Regions from separate parts of the Homo sapiens genome. Here region 2 is linked to region 1. Evidence: promoter capture Hi-C in 16 types of primary human blood cells and fetal thymus (Javierre and others, 2016). All regions are on one chromosome and are shown on one strand. Each heading gives the region's core, a stretch centred on a gene start or on the middle of the fragment in contact. The rest is flanking DNA. Distances are from core to core; before and after follow the strand shown.

Region 1 (3,256 bases), core at 282-2,781:
ACCGAGGTAATACTTCACACCCACTGGGATGACTACAAGTGAAAAACAAAAACAAAAACAACAACAACAACAACAACAACAAAAAACCACCAGAAAATAAATGTTTGCAAGGATGTGGAGAAATTGGAACCTCATACATTGCTAGTGGGAATGTAAAATGGTTAGCCATATGATCTAGCATTTACACTCCTAGGTAAATGCTAGCACTATATGCTGCAAATAATAAAAACAGGCACTCAAATAAGCACATGTACACACATGTTCATAACAGCACTATTGATAATAGTCAAAAGGTGGAAACAGCCCAAATGTCTATCAGTGGAAGAGTGGATAAACAAATTGCAGTATATTCATAAGCATATTTTTCAGTGATTAAAAAAAAGGATGAAGTACCGTACCTAATACATGCTATAACATGGATGAACCTCTAAAACATTAGCTAAGTGAAAGAAGCCAGACACCAAAGATCACATATTGTATGATTCCATTTGTATGAAATATCCAGAATAGATAAATTCATAAAGATAGAACACAGATTGGTGGCTGCCAGGTACTGGCAGGTTAGAGAGAAAGAGGAGAAACTGTTTAATGTGCAAAAGGTTTTACTTTAGAGTGAAGAAAATGTTTCAAAACTAGATAGATGCGGTGGTTGCACAATGCTGCAAATGAACTAAATGTCACTGAATTTAAAATAGTTAATTTAAAAAATCTTGGTGGAGGCACACACACACACACAAAAGCTTTCTATCCAGGGAAAAAATTAATGGACAGCTAATAGAATTAAAGAAAATTATTCATACCATTTAAAGCTGACTATGGGTTGATATCTAGAATATATAACAAAATCTTGCAAATTCACAAGAAAATGTCAGCAACTTCATTAAAATAATAGGCAAAAGATATGAATCAGCATTTAAATAAGGAACCAAAAGTTGATAAATATGAAGAAATGTTTAAACTCATTAATAATCAAAGAAATGCAAATTGAAACAACAGTGAAATAGGGAAGAATTAGAAAGTTGAATGATACTAAGTGTGGATGGGGCAATGTGACTTAGCTCATGTTCGCCAAAAGCCAATCTTGAGACATAGATTTATTTTCAAATAACTTATTAAGAAAGTCATCCCAGCATAAACTGGTAAGGAAGTTGGGGATGAAGGACAGAAAAATAGAAGAAACTAAAGAAAGATGTACTGTATTTCAGACAGAGTCCTAGCCTTAATCTGATCCTATAAGGGAGTTCTGGAGAGGAAATTATGCCTCAGCCTGAAAGAGTCTAAGGCAAAGGAGCTGGGCTTTCATCCTTATACTGCAGTGGTCCATTGACTACAGATGTACTGGGGGTACCTAATCTCCCAGACACTTCCTATTCTCTGGGATAAGTGGCTCCAGTAGCCCAAGGGCAATCCTTCAAAGCAGATATTTAAAAGAGGCAGCCATTGTGGAGTGCAATTTGGCATTTCTTTCTTTCTTTCTTTTTGAGACAAAGTCTCACTCTGTCGCCCAGGCTGGAGTACAGTGGCACTCTGTTGGTTCACTGCAACCTCCGCCTCCCGGGTTCAAGCAATTCTCCTGCCTCAGCCTTACGAGTAGCTGGGACTACAGGTGCGAGCCACCACACCCGGCTAATTTTTGTATTTTTAGTAGAGATGGGGTTTTGCCATGTTGGTCAGGTTGGTCTCCAACTCCATGTTGGTCAGGTTGGTCTCCAACTCCTGACCTCAGGTGATCTGCCAGCCTTGGCCTCCCAAAGTGCTGAGATTACAGGCAGCAATTTGACATTTCTCAGACAAATTATATTAAACAAATATATCTTATGACCCAGCATTTTTATTTTTTAGACATATATTCCCCCAAAATATAACATGAGGTTCATAAGGAGAATATTTAGTTGCCCACAGGGTGTGGCTTTTTCCACAGAACGCTGCAGGTCACTAATGTGATCCTACCTACTGAGGAGTCACATGGGCTGGTTTCGTCATCCCGACCTTTTCGCATCATTGGATCTACTGAATCATAAGAGCCAAGTGACAGAGCTGCTTGCTTGCAGCCTGAACCAGCTGAAGGAACTTTTCTTGCTTTAAGTCCCACTAAAATTTGTCAGTTTTTCAAAGTCACCTATTGGATTTGTCAGTGTAACACACCCAAATGTGCCATTGGTTGCCACCAAAAATTTTACATTTTTCTTACTGTAAGGCAGGCCAGTCCACTGAGGAGGAGATAACCTGTATACTCCTAAACTGGACCCTCTAGAAGATGCATTAATGTAAAAGCCCTCAGATTTTCTTCTTCCTGACATTCATGAGTTTTACCAAAGCTTTTAGGATATTCCCTGCTTTCTTAGCCCTCTCTGTAGTGGACCAGCATAATTTTCTTTGGAATGGTGAGAGGATCAAGGTTCTTCTATCAGTCAGAGTCTAATCATAAGAACGTAAACCACACTAGATATTTCAAACAAAGGGTAGTTAATAAAGGGAATTGATTACGCAGGTATTGGAACACCAAACAAGCAAAAATGAGAGGTTGAGGCAACCCACAGATTAATCTCTTTAGAAGGTACCACCTTAGACCTGGGGGAACAAAATGGAAGAAGTGATATTACCAGAACATACAGAAGAGGATACTTTACTTCTAGTGCTTAGACTGCTGAGGAAGTGTAGGCTGCACCACTCAAGGGGCTATGGCCAAATGGATAAAAGTGAATGATGGGCTTGGCTGCTACTAGTATCTTGATGGGGCATAGTGAGAATATTGCTGGGAATAACAAGCTGAAGGCTGGAATCAAATCATAGCTGTCTGCTGTAGCTGGAGAGTAAGCAAACTAGAACTGGAAACTGGAAGACACTACTTCTTACCTCCTCCACTTTATGGTTTTTGGAAGTGCCTCCAATTGGCAGAAGCTAGCTAGCAAGGGGCTCTGGAATGTGAAGTTTGCAGTGTCTAGTCACAGTGTCCTAGTGCAGAGTACAGAAAAATAATGGGCAAATATCTGACACACTTGCCGCAAAATGGTAAAGATGTATTGTTGTCCCTGCCAGATGAAAGCGAATGGTTTCTGGTATTTTTTAATCCCAGCCAAAGTAACCCAATACCTCCTAGATTTACTTGGACATCTCCAACCTGCTATAATTGGCCCTCTTGTTTGGTAGGAGGCTCTTGGACGTCACCTGTAACATAGAGATATGGTAGCACAGGAGGCAAAGTAGATAGGGGTGAAGGAATTTTTTTAAAGAGGACATAAAGAATGAGAAAAAA
Region 2 (3,256 bases), core at 273-2,772, 360 kb after region 1:
GGCCTTGGGAGAGCTAGGGCTGCCCCTCCCCAACCCAGCACATCCTCTCCTGGGAAGGGGAGAGGGAAGAGAGAAGGAGGAAGACAGGCCTTAGCTTTTCTTTTCTCTCAGGAGGTTTGCCAGGGCAGCCCCTTGTGAGCATCAAAGCTTCCATCTCTGGAGAAAGACCAAAGTAGCCAGCAGCCCTGGGATACCCCTCCTTTCCTCCCTCCTCTACAGCATCTTCTCTTTCGCTCTTCTTCTCCGCCTAGCCCACTCATGCTTTCCCTGGGCCATATCCTCCTTACACATAAGGTGTGGATGCCATTGAAACACCGCTGGACTTAGAGACAGAGACTGGGTGCTCACTTCCCGTCTAAAATATCTGGGGCAGCTGCCCTAATCTCTAAATCTCAGTTTACTCATCCATCAAATGGGGTTAATCATACCTCCCCTCCCTACCTCACAGGGTTTGAAGGGGTATAGATGAGACAACTTGAGTGAATTGGCTTGGTAAAGCCTGCAAAATGCAATGTATTATTATTCAAAAGGCATTAACTTTTAGTCACAGCTGCATTTGAGATCAGTCCTCCAGTGGCGATGGGGAGAAGGGGAAGAGAAGAGAATGGAGAGGAGAACAAAGGAAATAACTATATATTGTATGAGAAGGAATTCAATCAAGATTCCCTTTTCTCTGTCTTCAGGTGGTCATCATTGTGCTAGCACAGACAGTGGGTTTTCTGCTAGACATGAAGGTCACCGCAGTCATTATTAGAGTTCTCAACAGACAGCAGAGTCAATTTCTCAGTCCTGCTGAAGCCCCACACAGTTCCCTTTATAGTTTGGGAATAGCAGGAGTAAAGCAGGGGCCAGCACACAAAGCAGTCATGTTGGAAGGAGAAAGTGAAAGATGATGCCTGAATGGCAAATGATGAATCTAACAGAAAATCCACAGGGGGTGGGGGTAAGGCAGAAGCTGAATCCAACCAAGTCGTTCAGCAGAGGACGTCAACAATAGGCCACTTAACTGTCACTGGCGATTCTCAGAAGCTCCCCCTCCCCATCCAAACTATCTCAGAATGGCCGATTAACTGGCTATGTGTGCAAAGAAGGGAGCTCGTTTATCGACAGAACGCCCTGCTCCCCCACCCACCTGCCCTACTCCATTATTTCGTAGTTCAGCTGTTCAGACAAGCCAGACTCTTCTAGTATCCTGGCTTCAGGGACTCTCAAACAGTAACATTATCAAAGGGTTTAAGGACATAGAAAAGAAAGCAGTTATGCTTTCCACCCAAGTAACATTCAGCTTCAGTAGCAATGGAGATAAAAGGGTGTACTGCTAAACAATAGCTCAGGAATTTAAAAGGAAAAAAACAGAGATAGTGCTAGTCACCAAAAGTACCCATGGGGCGTCTTCTTGTTCAAAAACATCATTTTAAGCCACCAATGATGAGACAACTATCCCTGTACTTGGCTTAAGGGTGGGAAAAGAGAGAGAGTGAGAGAGAAAGAATAAGAGTAAAAGAGAGAGAGAGAAGCAGTTAGGAAGTTTTGAGAATTCTATGACATAGCTTCCAATAGAACTTTCTGTGATAATGGAAATATTCTATGTCCACACCCCCCAGTAGGATAGCCACTAACCTCTTGAAATGTGGCTATTGTGGTTGAATATTGATTTTGGAGTTGTATTTAACTTTAATTAATTTAAATAAAATTTAAATAGCCACATGTGGCTAATGGCTACCATATTGGACAGCAGAGTTCTCTGGGAATTCACCAACCCTGAAAGCACCATCTCCAATGGCTGGATTTGTTTTTGGTTTTGCTTCTTCTAAGTTCATGTTAGACGGGTAATGTGCTGACGTCATAACAAGGTTTGAGGGTGACACATCTCACACACGCATGCGTGAGCACCCAATTATCATACTTATGAACTGCAATTATCAGCTTATGGCTGGATTTGAAGCGGAGACACATAGCTATGCTTGACCTAATACCTCATTTTGGCTTTTCACTTATAATTAATTACTCACCTAATCATTTACTCAGTAAATGTCCTCTGAATACCTGCTATGTTCCAGGCACTTGCTAAAGTCTGGAAACAAAATAGAAAGCAACACATATCTGGCCCTTACATTTCTAAAGGCGTAAGTAGAAAATTAATTTAAATAGCATGAAGATAATTGGTAAACCCAAGACATAATGGTAGCCCATCTCACTCCAGATAAGTGTAAAACTATAGATGGTGTTTGTGTTACAAGGGAAAGGCACATTGTACCATGAGGACGGGGAACATGGGCTCCACATAGACTGAAGGAGAGTTTCCCTAAATTAGAAATTTTTTTGGAGGACTTTTATTTCCTGCAGGTGGGGTGGGTTAGATACCTAAGCAATCTTGCCCAAATGAAAGAACTCAAATGCAGAAGAAAATATTTTTAGTAACAACTTTCTAAAGCCATTGCTGGGTTGGCACAAAAATAAGAATCTATAGATCCCAAAAAGAAGGAAAAGCCAGACAGACACCCAAGTGGTAAGCAAGTTTTGCCTCAGAGAACTTCTCAGAATGCTGGTGTTCTTGATTTTCCTACTGGATGCATGTACCATGTATCTAGAATCATCTTCCCTCTGCTTCAAATCTATCTTTTCAAACCTTCCTTTAGTTAAGGTTTCTGTTTTTACTTATTTGAAAATTTTTGGCCAGGTATGGCAGCTCACATCTGTAATCCCAGTGCTTTGGGAGGCCAAGGCAGGAGGAGCCCAGGAGTTCGCTTGAGCCCAGGAGTCCGAGACCAGCCTGGGCAAGTCAGGGAGACCCTATCTCTGCAAAAATAAAATAAAATTAGCTGGGCATGGTGAGGCACGCATCTGTAGTCCTAGCTACTCGGGAAGCAAGCAAGCAGATCAACTGAGCCCAGGACTTTGAGGCTGCAGAGAACCATACTCCAGCCTGGGTGACAGAACAAAAACCTATCTCAAAAAAAAAAAAAAGAAAAAAAGAAAAAGAAAAGAAATAAGGAAGGGAGGGAGGGAGGAAGAGAGGGAGGGAGGGAGAGAGGGAGGGAGCGAGGAAGGAAGGAAGGAAGGAAGGACAGACAGAAAAAAAAAGAAAGGAGAGAGGGAAAGAGAAAGAAAGGAAAAAAAAGAATAAAGAAAGAAGAAAGAAAAAAGAGAAAGAAAGAAAGAAAGAAAGAGAAGAAAGAAGGAAAGAAAAAGAAAGAAAAGAAGAAAGAAGAAGGAAGGAAGGAAGAAAGAAAGAAAGAAGAAGAAAGAAAGAAAG

Evidence for each region. Contacts are between HindIII fragments. The CHiCAGO score rates a contact against its expected background, and 5 or more counts as called.
Region 2: a contact is called between the fragment with the promoter of CPA5 here and a fragment that was not itself captured in region 1, in 1 of 17 cell types (total CD4 T cells). The highest score is 5.3, in total CD4 T cells.

What each region holds. Positions count from the first base shown.
Region 1 is chr7:130,698,609-130,701,864 of GRCh38, reverse strand. No RefSeq gene overlaps it. Among named protein-coding and RNA genes, the nearest start is that of TSGA13, 14 kb to the right of the region's middle. The HindIII fragment of the contact is 1,578 bases long and covers 743-2,320 here.
Region 2 is chr7:130,343,082-130,346,337 of GRCh38, reverse strand. CPA5 (carboxypeptidase A5) reads right to left here and starts at 1,522. Exons shown (of 13, transcript NM_080385.5): 1 at 1,133-1,522; 2 at 442-499. The region is part of intron 1 of LOC105375503 (a long non-coding RNA gene); the gene reads left to right. LOC124901837 (small nucleolar RNA U13) reads right to left here and starts at 1,923; the gene lies at 1,820-1,923. RefSeq lists an enhancer at 1-330. The HindIII fragment of the contact is 13,267 bases long and covers 150-3,256 here.